2 separate regions of the Homo sapiens genome follow, and region 2 is linked to region 1. The links are contacts of gene promoters, found by promoter capture Hi-C in blood cells and fetal thymus (Javierre and others, 2016). All regions are on one chromosome and are shown on one strand. Each heading gives the region's core, a stretch centred on a gene start or on the middle of the fragment in contact. The rest is flanking DNA. Distances are from core to core; before and after follow the strand shown.

The links. Contacts are between HindIII fragments. The CHiCAGO score rates a contact against its expected background, and 5 or more counts as called.
Region 2: a fragment that was not itself captured here is called in contact with the fragment with the promoter of KLHL14 in region 1 in 1 of 17 cell types (naive B cells); the score reaches 5.8 in naive B cells.

What each region holds. Positions count from the first base shown.
Region 1 is chr18:32,768,974-32,776,282 of GRCh38, forward strand. It overlaps KLHL14 (kelch like family member 14), which reads right to left and starts at 4,050. Exons shown (of 9, transcript NM_020805.3): 1 at 3,694-4,050; 2 at 672-1,661. The coding sequence starts at 1,618. It overlaps LOC105372055 (a long non-coding RNA gene), which reads left to right and starts at 1,703. Exons shown (of 2, transcript XR_935342.4): 1 at 1,703-3,314; 2 at 4,342-4,468. The HindIII fragment of the contact is 5,436 bases long and covers 2,152-7,309 here.
Region 2 is chr18:32,900,439-32,907,747 of GRCh38, forward strand. LOC105372058 (a long non-coding RNA gene) reads left to right here. Exons shown (of 10, transcript XR_935361.2): 7 at 67-175; 8 at 1,076-1,295. Among named protein-coding and RNA genes, the nearest start is that of KLHL14, 130 kb to the left of the region's middle. The HindIII fragment of the contact is 7,195 bases long and covers 1-6,375 here.

The DNA of each region.
Region 1 (7,309 bases), core at 2,800-5,299:
TTGCTTTACTCTCCTTTAAAAGTGAAAAGGAAAGGCTTTCCACAACATAGAAAAGTTTGCCTGGGCACATGATACCAGCATTTCCAATAGTGACCCTAATAGACAAAGCATTTTGGAGTTCTGACATCGACAGGGAGCAGATCCCAGTCATGAAGAAACAACTTGAGTGTGTGACGGCAAGACCATGAAAGCCTTCCTTTGCAAGCATCGCCTGGGCTCTTCTGCTCACCCAAGGCAGAACTGAGGAGGGGTGGGGTGGGCATTCCTCACCACAGGATCCTTTTTCTTGAGCAAGCCCATCTTAAGATTTGTAGGGAGAGCTGGCTTAGAGAGACTTCCAAAGCTACACTTCTAACTGTCCTGGCCTTTGGCCCCATCTGCCTGTCAATTTCAGTCTGAGTCCACAATTCCCATGTTTACGGCTCTGGGGATATCTAGAACCTCGGCTTTGGAGCGCTCAGGGATGCTGCTAGGCCAGTTCCCTATTGACCTTTCAGGGACTCTGAAATCAACTTTCCTCACACACTCTGAATTGTTTGCGTTTGTTTTCATCCTGCCAGAGCCACCCGCCCAGGCCACCCATCTCTTCCCTCCTCCCTGCCCCCTCCCCTCCCTCCGGCCTCTCTGGCTCTACCCCCCCCTCCCCCGCCCTCCTCTTTGTTGTCTCCTACCTGCTGGCCAGGCTCTGCCTGCAGTGCTGCCTGAAGGGCATCAGGTGGTAGTTCATGGCGTCCAGCAGCAGCTTCTGGCAGACCGGGTCGGTTCGCATGAAATCCACTGACTGGACCCGCTCCACCAGCTCCGGGGCCGGGATGAGGGCGAAGCGGAGGCGCTTCATGAGGTCAGGCGCATACTGCATGCGGGTCTCGCGGTCGTGCTCCAGCCACAGCACGGACATCTGGAAGAGCGCCAGCTCCGACTCCACGGGGGGCGGCAGCGAGTCCAGCAGGGCGCGCATCTCCTCGAAGTTGAGCAGCAGCACATCCTCCACCAGGTACTTGTTGGCCAGCTTCTTGGTCTCCTCCAGGCCGTGCAGCGCGGCGATCTTGCACACCTGCTTGTAGTTCTGCACCGAGATCTGGTCGTTGAGGAACTGCACGCAGAGCTTGGTGACCTGGGGGATGTGCAGGATCTTGCTGACCGACAGCACCTCCTCCACCGTGTCCAGGGACAGGGTCACGTTGGCCGTGTAGAGGTACTCGAGCACCAGGCGCAGCCCGATGGACGAGCAGCCCTGCAGCACCAGGTTGTTGATGGCCCGGGGGCTGGTCAGCAGCTTGTCGTCGGGGGAGGAAGAAGGAGTCCCGGGCTCCTCCTGCGGCGGCGGCTGCTGCTGCTGTGACGGCTGCTGCTGCGGCGGCTGCTGCTGGTCCTTGGGGGCCCCCAGGCCGTCCTGGCCGCCGACCCCTCCCCCGAGAGGGGGGTGGCTGGAGAAGAGCGATCGGAAGTACTGCGAGCAGGAGGCCAGCACGGCCTTGTGGCAATGGAACTGCTGGCCCTGGGCCGTCAGGGTCACGTCGCAAAACAGCTGCTTCCTCCACAGCAGGTTGAGGCCGTGCAGCAGGTTGTCGCTGTGGCTGGGGTCGAAGGTGGAGGTCCTGTCCCCGGATCTGGACATGGCGAGCTGACTCGGTGCACCTGGCTTTAAACCCTCCTCCAACCTGGCAGACAGGGGTGGGGGATGGGAGGGAGGGGAGCAGGGTGGTGGAGCGGGTGGGGTGTGGTCGGGGTGGGGAAGGGTGTGGAGGGGAGGGGAGGGCGAAGAACAAGAATCAAGGCTCAGCTTGACTCCCTCCTGGCGCGCTCCGGACCCCGACCCTAGGAGGAAAGTCCGAAGACGCTGGATCCGTGAGCGCCACCAGAAGGGCCCTGTCTGGGGTCCCGGCGCCGGTTCTGCGCCCTGCGGCTCCTCTCGCCACCTCCCACACACTTCGTCCCTCACTTTCCTAAAACCAACCACCTCAGCTCGGCTGTTGGCAGCAACAGCAGTGGCAGCAGCGACGGCAAAGTGGCGGCTGAGGCCGAGGCACCTCGTGGGCTCGTGTCCATGCCGGGCCAGATGAAGGGAAAGGCCGGGAAGTGGGGAGCCGGGGGTGCCCTGAAAGCTCAGAGGCGACCGACGGCGAAGGTTCCAGGTCAACTTGTGCCCGAAGCTTTGCTTTTCGCAGTTGGCCCAGTTTGGGGGAGGGGGTAGGAACAGGGGCCCGACCAGCGTGCGGGGTGTGCGAATCTTAGCTCTCCAAAAGCTGGGACCCCCTTCGATTATCCATGCTGCCCCGAGAAACTCCTAGGCTAATAGTCTGAGGGAGGAGATAAAGCCCTTTCTTCTCCCGGGAAAGTGCAGCGGAGCGCGGTGAGGACCCGCTCAGTGGAATCGGCAGAGGCGGGAGCTGTCCTTATCAATTCGAGCTCATTTCCCTCAACCTGGCCCTGCCCGCTTCCCCGCTTCGCAAACTGTTGGCTTCCCCGTCACCACTCAGTTTGGCTAATTTTCCAGAGATGGCTTTAAACCTGGCAGGAGAATCCTTCCACCACCGCCACCCCCACCCGGTGGCCCCCTCTCCCCCGTCTCGCTCATTTCAAAGCGCGGAAGTTCAGGCATCAATCTCCCCTTCCAGCGAGGGGCGGCACCGAGGACTCAGGGGGAGGAAGTGGGGCTGCGAGGACGCGTTTGGAGAGGGAGCCGGGAGGCCTGGAGGCCGGGAGGGATTCGTGTGCACGGTTTCCCCTCCCGGGCACCAGGCGCAGTCGCTTTAACTCCAGTAACTATGAGAAGTTCAAGTTAGAAGGCAGGTGTTGGGGGAGGGGTGGGGGCTGTCGAACGAGCGGGGGGGCGGGGGAGCAGTGGGGTGCGGGGTCTCTGCGCCCCACCCAGCATCGTCGCCTGCAGCCGCAGCTCCCTTCTGACCCCCTCGGTAGAGCCCCCAGCGGCCCCCCACTCGGGCACCCCCACTTCCCCGGCCCTGGAACTACTTCTGTAAAAAGTCTGAGCCGCCCGCATCTAGGCAGAGGAGGGCAGGGTGGGGGAGGCGAGGCGAAATCGATACGCCAGGTCCTTAACCTGTAATTGCACCTTCCAGGGCTGAGCAGAAAGGGACCCTCTGCTTGCATCCCGCCCGCGCGCCGGCCCGCCGGCCCGCCGGCCCGCCCGCCCGGGGGAGAGCCGCCGCCGCCGCCCGGCTCGGAGGGATCCCGGCGGACCTGCCCCTTCCACTGCGGCTCACTCTGCCCTGCCTGGCGCCGGTCCTGGATCGCCGGCTTCCTATTTATACCGGACTGGGCTCCTTTCGACTCACTTTACCATCCCGTTCCAGGTGGACCCTACCCTCCCTCGCGCTCCCTCCGCCGGCAGCACCCCCACGCCCGCCCCCAAAGCTCTGGCTTGCCTGAAACATCTTACAGAGTCTCTCTCCCTTTAAGAGGACCCGGTCATACCTCTCTCTAGCTCTCTCCGCTTCGTTGTCTCCCCCCGCCCCATCTTTTCCTATTCCCCTTCCTTCTTGTTCTTCTCCCTTGCCTTTCCTCCTCATCTGCTTATTTCTTGCAATAGGAGTTTTTTCTTTATGAGCGTTTGCCATACAACTACCCCCCCGCCAACCCCTCTGAAAGACTCCCTCCCCGGCCCTTCCCCCTCCAACAATCCAAAAGACAGAACAAAATACACACAAGGCAGACACAAGGCCAGAAACTTACCTGTTCTCAACCAGCTGCAAAGTCAAGGCTCACTTAAGCTCCCCCCAAAAATCAATTGTCCTTCCTTTTTAAAGGTTTGCTGTCTCCTTGGGAGGGGGAAAACACCTTCTGGTTCCCAACTCCAGGCAGTCACTCTTTACAATTTATTTTGTCGTACATCATTTGATCACCATGAATTAGCAACAGCAAGAAAATGTAGGAGAGGGAGAAAAGAGAGAAAGAGAGAGGGAGAGAGAGAGGGAGCAGAGCTTTCTGCAAGAGAAGAAGAAGAAAAAATGTACGTGTGACAAATTATGCTACCAAGAAACAACACATCATTATCCTTGGGCCTGGGGCTCAGTGAGTCGTAACGAGAGTAATAGGAAATCCACGGTTGGGGAGAGAAACGGTCGTGCTTGGCCAGTAGAGAGAGACCATACAGGGGGATGGATGCTGGAGAGACTCGCAAAATTATGGCTCAAGGCTATTGTAAAAATTGTCGAGCGTAAATGACTGCGATTTCAAACATCTTTGGAAGAAAGAAGGGGAAAAAGCGAGCCCCCCCTCCCTCCCTCTCCCTCTCTCTCCCTCTCTCTTCTCTCTCTCTATAAAGAACCGTCAAGTTTTAGTGCGCATTGCTAATTAGTCAATTTCTCTCTGCCTTCACAGGCTGGCGACTTCGCTGCTGAGCTGAAACTGCTAATTTCTGTGACCAGCTTTTTTCTTAGCTGTGATCTGGATGAATGAGTAGCTGTCTCACAGAGATGACAAAAATAAACTCTAATCCCCCCCAAAATTTCCACTACATCTTTCTCATGCATAGATTTATGATCTTCAAGTGCTCTGTGCAATATGCAAACTTTTTTTGTGTCTGTATATATGCTGTTGTTTCCAGATTTCACTACATTGGTATGCTGCTTTTCCCTTCCCCCCACACCTCCCCCCCACCCCCAGCACTGTGAAATGCAGAAACAGTCTGATCTCAAAGTATGCTAAGACACTACTTTATTCTGTTTTGGTATTTGGGGTTTGGGTCTGTCCTGAAAGACACTAGCCCTTGCCTAAAAGGTGAGTGGCTGAGGATACACACCGGGGTGGGGGAGTAGAGCTGGTAGACAGAATAGAGGACAGCCCTTTGCTTTACATTTGCTTCCCACAAGGCACTGTTCAAGGTTTATGATCTTATTTGAAAACATATTTTCTCTATCATTTTGTCTGGTTAAACAACTGCCTCTGAACTTCTCTGTCAGCTCTTCAACAGATAAGGGTGCAGAAGTCACGTTTTTTTTTTTTTTTTTTTTTTACTGAAAGATTATCATATTGTTGGATTTGTATTTCAATTAGGAGTCTTTGATTTGCAGGAGCTAGAATCAAGTGCTAGGAAACCCAGCCGCAATTTCACAAATGTAACCTTTCAACTTTAGAGCTCATCTGATATATAAGGGCAACCACATAGTGCTCACATTTTTGACCCTGCTTAGCATGCAAAAGGAACCCCAGCATGTTTCTGGAATTTTAGCTGTACCAGAGATTCATGTGCATTTTGGTAGAGGACATGTTCTCCAGACTTATCTCATGATGTATTGCACCCTTATGTTTATAGCCCTGCATTTCGGTTGTCAATGGGGGTTGGAGGTGTCCAAGAAAGAAAGAAAAAAAAGAAGCAGAAAAAGGAAGGTATGCCCTTGAGTAAAATGAACACGAAGAAAGCTGGACATGAACTAAATTGAGCTTTGTTTGCTATTAACTATATGACTATGATTCATTCTAATTTATATGTGCTCTGATTAGTAAACTTATTAAAATACGTATCAGGGCACCATTGCAAGACATCTATTCAGACCCCCCATCATCCTCTTTGATTTGTGAGAGATGGAAAGACACCTGCTTAGGAAAGGGAGGAAAATTAAAAATTCTGAGGTTCAGAAATAGGGATTCCCCATTTACAATGATAACATTAACGTGCACATGGGATAGTCACACTTAAATGAATTAAGAAGGATCAAACTGAAGCATTTAACCCTCACAAAGCCCCCCCACTTTTTTTGTCAAGGTTCTAGATTATCTGAGAGTAAGACTTCTTTATTCAGATCCTGTTGAGATGCTGCATTCTCATATTTATGTTTATAGTGGAAATGCCCCAATACATGATTAAATCATAGAAAAGAATTTTGCTGTTGTTGTTGTTTAGGGCAGAGGAGAGAAAGACAACAGATTATACAATTCTCCTGGCCCTATTATTGTTTTGATTTTTGTTTAAATTTCCCTTATTTGGGTGTTGAACAGGAAGATCATGTGACTCTAAGATAGAACATTTTTGGAGTTCTGTGTCACTAGCAATTAAAGCTATCAAGTATGTGGAGTGTCACAAAACTCTCATACATGTAAAGTGCAATTTTTATATTATGATTTTGATGTTGATCTTTTATGAACTTCTCATGAAGTATTTGGAACTAAGCCCAAAGGCAATAATAGTATTGATCACTTAAATTATGGCCACCTTCCTGTTTTATCTTGAAAGAATTAAAGTATGTTTGTAGGCCTCAAAATAACTTAGTTTCAAATTTCTATTTTTTTATGGATAGGATATATTGACCACTAATTATGATTACCAGGCTCTTTATTGCTTCCAAACAATATAAAAGCCACATTTCAAAAATTTTAGCTACCTATAATTTTAATGCTTATTTAACAACTAGGGTGGAAAGGGAAGAGAGTGGGATTGGGAGCTGGCAATTCTAAAATGGCTGTTGAAGTGGATAAAAACATTTTCTTCTGCATTCTAAAGTTATCTGATAATGTTTAAATTTCAGAAAAAAATACAATTCTGGTTATTGTATAAGCAATTAAAAAAGAATATTGATAAAGGGTCCCTTCATAATCTGTGCATAAACTAGCATATATGTCATGTAAATCTCACACCTCCAGTATCTTATACTGGCTTTGACTGAAATTATTGCAGAACTCACAAATGAGACGACACTATTTACAATAAATCTCGTTATGAAAGATTCAATTTGCAGCAATCAGATGCTAGCTACTAAGCGATTTTAAGTATTTGAATTTTATCCTACTTCAGTGTTCAACATACAGAAATTGCATCTGTGTGTTTGATCTGTCCTGCTGAGCGCTATCAGCAGCTTGCATCTCTGCCACTATTGTTTTTAAAATGGCAGGAAGGACGTGACTAGTCAGGAGCACTCAGCAGGATGGATTTCACGTGGCATAAGAGGAGCCAGAATTGTCTTTTTTAAAAAAAAATTAAATATGATTGTGTAGTCATCTAATGCAAGCCATCTTCATACTTCGATAGAATTATCAAAATTATTCATTAGTGAATTTGCATTTAAACCATGTACAATGGAAAGATTCTGAAACTATGGCCACTGAGCAGTCTACTAGAGCTGCCATTAGTTTCTAGTGGTCTGGTCAGCCTTCAAGGTGGCAGAGATCCAGGCCTATCAGTGGTTCCAGTTGCTCAGGATCATCTCACTGGACTGGAGGAACTGAAGATTATCTTTAGAGCAGTTCTAGAAATGTTTTGCTGCTTAACATATAGGGGCAGCCACACTGAATCTTTATTTTCCTTATTCTTGACTTTTCTGCTTAGGATTTATGAGTTATCACCAAATTGCAT
Region 2 (7,309 bases), core at 1,528-4,027, 130 kb after region 1:
ACCAGGAGTATTGTCTCCCATCCCACTCCCACGCTTTCTGACTGTGACTGTGTTGTGTGACTTTAGAGAAAGTCCTGAGGCAGAGAAGTGGAGAGAAGTTGCTGCTTGAGCTTGAGAAAGAATGGTGGCAGAGTACATGCATGGAAGTGCTACCATAGCTGCTCTGAAATCAGAGGTGGGCCAAGTGGATGGGGTGCAGGGCCCAAAAAAATTTCTGCTTTGAGATAATGTTTATGCAAAGTGCTTTGTGGTTCATTAAGTTCTAACACATGTTATTTGTTATTAATAGTGAAAAATTCAAATGTTCTTGTTTATAATAAAACATAATAAAAGTTTATCAAATAGCATGGCTCATCCTAATTAGTAATATTGGTGATACTATGGTATAGGGTTAAACCTATTTGTTTGTAAAAGGCCAGAGATTGGGTAGAGTATTCATATGTCCATTTGTTACTTCTCTGCCCTGCTTTTTACTTCCCTAGAACTGCTATCTGTCTATCCCTGCAGATAACACACACACACACACACACACACTCTCCAGTGATCTATCCACCCCCTCATTGCTCTCAGACATTATTATTCCAATGAGCATGTGACAAACCCATATGGGCGCAGATAAAATGAATTGGGAATACTCAGTTCTTCCTTCCATACCCCCATAGGTTGGGAGACAGGAGGTTATGATTTGAGAGGTTAATCAAACACATGCTTTGCAAAACTGCCCTCAAGACAATGACCAGAGTTGGAAGATTCCCAACATAAAGAAAAGATAAATGTTTGAGATGAGGGATATTCCAATTATCCTGATTTGATCTTTACACATTGTATGCATATACCAAAATATCACATATACCCCCAAAATATATACAACTATTATGTATCAATAAAGATCAACAGAATGGCCAGAAACCCAGACACTTGCTACTAACCAGTAAACATGTCCAGGCCATAATTAAGCTCTATTTCCATAGTCCATAGCCTAGGCTTATCAGACTTAAACTTGTATGTTTATATAATCATCAAGGAATATCTAATAAGTGCTCATAGTGCTTGGCCCTGGTTCTCTCATTTCAAGGAAAGTGGAATTATAAGAAGACCCCATCTGACAAGGCTCATAAAGGAGAGCAACTCTTATGGAATACATCCAAGATATATACGTCTTTGAAGAAAGACATCACTCAACTGTGAAAGATCACCATGACCCCTGCTTTAATTTCATCAAAAAACTTAGTCCATCAGCTCAGTTACCCTTTAGCCTTGCATGGGAATTGACTCAGAGCTTCTGCAAGATCAGGGTGAATATGAATTGTTTAGCTTCAGATGATCATTCCTAAAGTGAAAACTCCTGGAACTTATTGGCAAAAAAGAGAACTCTTTGCTATTTCTAATATAAATGTGTTATTAGAATTGGTCTACTGTTCTAATAAATAACAGTAATGGAAATGGATTGAAATAATGAAAGGTTATTTTTCACCCCTGTTAATTTATTGAATCTGGGGGATTAGTAGGTTGCTCCACTATGCAGTCATCCAAGGACCCAGGCAATTTTCATTATGAGACTCAGTTTTATTCAGGTTCTCAGATCTTCTTGTTCTACCTTATGGTCAGGAAAAGAAATGAGGTTCTCAGGTGGGCCTGGAAGGAGTGTATGTCACTTCTACTCATCCTTTTGGTGAGAACTTAGTCATATTGCTACACCTAACTGGAAGAGAGACTGGAAATTCTAGCCTAATTGAAAGGGAAGTAGAGAACTCAGTTATGGGCAAAACCTTACGTCTCTGCCAAATAAGTAATAGAAATGTGGGACCTAATTGAACAAAGTAATGACAATAGGAGACTTTGTTTTCTTTGTGGATCAGTTACACATTTAATATTTTCATATCCCAAGAGAGGTGAGGCTTTATGTTTCATCTATTATGTAAGATGCTCTATTCTGGACAAATATAGACAATTTCTTCCTGAGGAATGGCATCTCACATTTCTGGCGTTTTACTGTTGCTTCTGATTCTGCTTTGATATCGTAGATGGAATAGAGAGTGAAGACAACTATTTTCATATAACTATGGTTCATGATTGGCCTTTGGATAATCAGCCATTAGCTGGAATAGTCACCACTGATGCACTTTAATTTTATAATAGGCATCCAGCAGTTCGGTGATGAATGTCTAAGCCAGAGTGGAGGGGTGAGAGAGGAAGGGTGCTCATATATTAGAATTATCTGGAAACATTTTCAATTATTCATGCTGGTCTCAAAATAAATCAGCATCTGGTGTAGGGTTCTGAGAGAAGGGAAGTAAGACATAGATTTTGCAGAAGTTACCTTGTACCTGGCCATCCCTTCACCCAACTGAAAATCATCACTCTAGACTCTAAGTTCCTCTATTTGTTGTTGCCCCTCTTTGTCCTAGTGGCACATTTATGCTATTTTTTCCTTTATGAAGAGCAATTTTCCTAGTGAGTAATCACTTAAGTGAGTTCAGTGTATTGTCTGCTAGAGTTGCCAAAACAAAACGCCAAACTGGGTGATTTAAACAACAGTAACTTATTTCTTGCCATTTTGTAGGCTGGAATTCTAAGATCAAGGTGTTGGCAGGGTTGGTCTCTAGTGAGGACTCTTTTCCTTGGCTTGCAGATGGCCACCTTTTCATTATGTTATCATATGGTGTTTTCTCTGTGTACACATCCCTGGGGTCTCTTCCTCTTTTTATAAAGACGTTAGTCATATGGAGTTAGAATCCTACCCTTATGACATCATTTAATCTTAATCACTTGTCTACAGGTCACATCTTCAAATACTATCACATTAAGAATTAGTACTTTAATATATGAAGGGAGGGAGGCAAAATTCAGTCTGTAACATTGAAAATGTAAAAATGTCTCCAGTGACACATACTACCTTTTGGCTTCCAAAGATCCTACAGCTTCAAATTTTCTTGAATCTTCTGGGTCACAAAAACCACCAGGAGTAATTACAGTCCTAATTCCAGTTAGGAAAGCTGCAATGGCAAATTGAAATTCATTATATAAAATCTAGATGAATTTAATTTCAGAATATTGAGCTGTGCCTAATCCTCCTCAAAGTAACATTCAGGTTAAGAACTGGATAATTTGTATGGCAGGCAAGTTTTCCCCTGGTCTCCCAATGTCTTCCTAAATTCCATTCTTAAAACATCTCCTTCCTTCTTTTCAGTATCTTTCTCAAAAATGTGCTATGCTCTTCACACTGAGGCTGCCAGATTTCTTCACTATCGGTCTCATCAACACCTATGCATCCTCCTGTCTCAGTCTTTTAGGTTTCTGCTCTGGGGAAATGGCAACTAGCTAATGTGATAAACAATTCAGATAAATATATAGGTGGAAGATAAGTATTTTAGGCTAGAACCTCTTTTTTTTTGAGACGGAGTCTTACTCTGTCACCCAGGCTAGAGTGCAGTGGCGTGATCTTGGCTCACTTCAACCTCTGCCTCCCAGGTTCAAGGGATTCTCCTGCCTTAGCCTCCCGAGTAGCTGGGACTACAGGCACGTGCTACCATGCCTGATTAATTTTTTGTATTTTTAGTGGAGACGGGGTTTCACCATGTTGGCCAGGATGGTCTCGATCTCCTGACCACCTCAGGTGATCCGCCCACCTCGGCCTCCCAAAGTGCTGGGATTACAGGCGTGAGCCACCACACCTGGCCTAGAGCCCCTCTTATATTTCCACTAATGACATGTCTTCTGAAAACTCAGAAAGGTGCTCCAAGCACACTCTCTAGTCAGGCCCCATTCCCTGAGTGTAGATAATCAGTCTTGCATTTTTCCTCCAAAGAGCTGACCCATGTAGGTATGTTCTTAGGAATAGACCATCCATTTCAAATGAGTGCATTTTATTATGATCTACAGGGCACGGTTTTCACAAAAGCATTAAAAAAAATCTCCTGTTTTCCCCTCTCTTAACTCTTTCATGATCTGCCTATACATTATGAGGTCTGAGAGAGTAGGAAATGTATCCTATTTTCTTTTATTTCTTTAATGAATACTGTTGGTGCTCAGAAAATGTTTGGTGATTACATTTTTGTTCTAGTACAGGTTTGTGTGTGTGTGTGTGTGTGTGTGTGTGTTTGGCAAATATTACTTTTACCATTTCAGTTTTCAAAATATGCAACCCAAACAGAGATTAGAATGACTCGGATTTTGGAAGATTTTAGAAGCAGAGTTGGATTATATATTTATAAATTTTTCTAGTGCCATATCTTTTCCCAACTCCAAGTATCTAAACCAGCAGGGTTAAAATCACGCTATTTGAGTCAGCATTCCCTTTGAATGGCATTATTATTACTGTTTATCATTGCCTCAGCTTTTGCAATAGGTTCGGTGCTGTGAAACACATTAAAAAGACACAGTTCTTGCCTTGGGGCTTACACTCAGATAGGCAAACAAACAAAGTGTATTTAAGAAGAGGTAGATTGATCACGAAAATGCAATTTCCCAGGTGTTCGTATTTGTGCTTTGGGTTCCTTTGTCTTTTAACCAGCCGTGGACTAAAGCAATCTTGAAACTTTTCTTCAAACAAAGATATAAGTGACAAGAGTTCAGGGTAAAAAACATGAGCCTTAAAGGGCAGAATACAGGGCTGAGCATCCACAGGACCTGATTCTGGGGGTCTCTGTGGTCTTGAATTACTCTCTCTCCTCATGCTTCTTTCAACAATTCAGACTGCCAGTGGCTTCCTCACTGGAAACCAAATCATTCATTTAAAAATGGATCACCAAATTTTATGGCCCGTCTTCAAGCCATCAAATACTGTTTAAAAAATGGACTAGTTCTCCTTACAGACTGAGATATTTATTTGAACAAAATTTAGAAACACTTTTATCTCAAGGATTTATTACCCTCCAAAATTTTAAGTTTTGAAAATCCAGTTTGTAAGCTGAAATGAGTAAAAATGTATTTCATAATTTTTACTCCTTTGGTGAACATTTTAAAAGTTTTCTCATGCATAGAGCAAAAACAAATATTTCTATTTTGTATATTATCTTTGGTGTTTGTGGGAAATACTCGCGCATGTGTGCACGCATGTGTCTGTGTGTGTGTGTGTGTGAGTGAATGCAAAACTTGAAGTTTCACATATGAAGTACATTGGGAACACAATCTTCATGCTTGGTAAAGCTGTAGAGATGTCCACATTGCAAAGGGACTGGCAATAGCTTCACTAAAGGGCTGGCAATAGCTTCACCAAGCCGTGTTCCGCTGCGTTTGGTCACCGTAGTCTCTAGGTGCATGGAAGGGTTTCTCGCAAGGATCTTGACCTGGGTCAAGGCCATGCATATTTAGGCCTTGGTTTCCAAAGTTTCTGTTTAATTGCACTTTTTCATCACATGCAGGAGTGTGGTATGCCCTTCCAGATGGCCCATACAAATGCTTTGTTGTACTTCACTCACTCTCTGCATGCCAAGCATCTCTGGGACTACATACATCACCAATTAGCATCTTATATTCATTTGACAGGAAAGGTTCTGCAACATTTTATACAGTTTTCTTTGATAAACATGATTTGCATGTTCTTCTCTTATAAGAAACAAGTTTGTGATTGTGGAATTTTCCTTCCTACTCCTCCCTCCCACCAAATGCTTTTCCCCATGCAGCAACCAGTTGATCTGTATTTTAGGAAAAATGTCTTTTGTGTGACATTTTTAGAACCCGAGGAGACCATGTTAGTGTGTTTACCAATGTATACCGTAGGTATTTACTATGTCACATCTCTCCAGGGGGCTGTGTTCTTGCAGGTACATTCTGAATTTTTCAGATTCTAGATCATGAGACCTCATCATTGACCTATAAATCTGATACTGCCATCCCTTCAGGCCTTTGCAGAAGTCTTCCAGATAAACCTTCATTTTCTGAGCTCTGTGCTGAGCATTTGATAGTGAATTTTGTGTACTGACACTGATAGTGAGATGCAGTCTTAACATGTAACAATCACATTTAGTCAATACACCAAAGAGATGCAATGCACCAGAAGGATCAAATTGTCACCTGGCAAATGGTGACTGTTACTTTGAAGAGTTTTCCAATGTGATAAATATTGACACTCTGGATAGTGGATAAGTAGAATGCACAGAACCGTGTCGGGTAGCGCCTTCTTCATGTCTCCACTTGGATGGCTCATAGGCATTTCAAACTTTACCCATCCACTTTCAGAATTGTCAACACCGGTTTCTCTCCCATCTAATAAATGATTCATCTACTCAGTTCAGAAACCTGCAGTCACCGGGAATTCCCTTATTTCTTTCATTCTCCTCACCCGCCTCCTCCTGGAATCTGTCATTGAGTTCCTTTCCATTCAGTCTTTGCCAACTCCTGCCCCATCCTCCCTTCACACCCCAGTGCCTGGAAAGCTTCTGTAACTTCCAAACTGGCCTTCCTTTTCTAAGTCTGGTTTTGGTAGATTCCTTTCTCTACCCTACTGTTATTAAAGTTTTTTACACCATACATTGCAGGAGGTCTCCCTGTAGCTGAAAAACCGGCATAGGTTTTCAGTCCTGTTTAGAACACAACCCAAACCTCTCCCACCACAACTCCCTAACCCTGCAAAGCCCTGCATGTCCCGGCTCCTTTCTAGCCCCTTCTTCTTTTCTAGCCCCTCCTTCTTTTCTAGCACTTCCTTCTTTTCTAGCACTTCCTTCTTTTCTAGCCCCTCCTTCTTTTCTAGCCCCTCCTTCTTTTCTAGCCCCTCCTTCTCCTCACACAGGCACAGCCTCGCTAAGCTCCGGCCTCACTGGGTGTTTTGGGTTCTTGAAATTTTTCAGTTCTTTCCCACTTTGAGGATTTTGCATTTGCTTGTGTCTCCTGCCTGAGAAGTATTTCCCTGTAACTTTCACTTGCTTGGCTTCTCTTCATTCTTTGGGTATTTTCTTTAGAGAAGATTTCTGAGTTCACTCCAACTGGAGTAAATGCCCCGGTTGCTTTCTGGCCCATCGCCCCACTTATTTCCCTGAAAGCACTAACCATAGTCTGAAAATGTTTTAGTTACCTATTCACATATTTGTCTGCTGTCTATTTCCTACTGTCTAGTACATTCAAGGTCAAGATCTGTCTTGTTTAATTTATATTCCTAATTCTTAGCACAGTGCCTGGCACACAGAAGATACCTGAAACATATTTATCGAATGGGTGTCTCTAATAAATTTTGATGAGGAGAGTTGAGTGTGTACATGTGGGGTGTGTGCATGTAATGAAGAAGTTAAAGGAAGGAAGCCATATTCTACATAGGAGTAGGAGAAGAGATGGGAAAGCTTGGCATTAGCATTGCAAAAAGACAGGTCAGCTG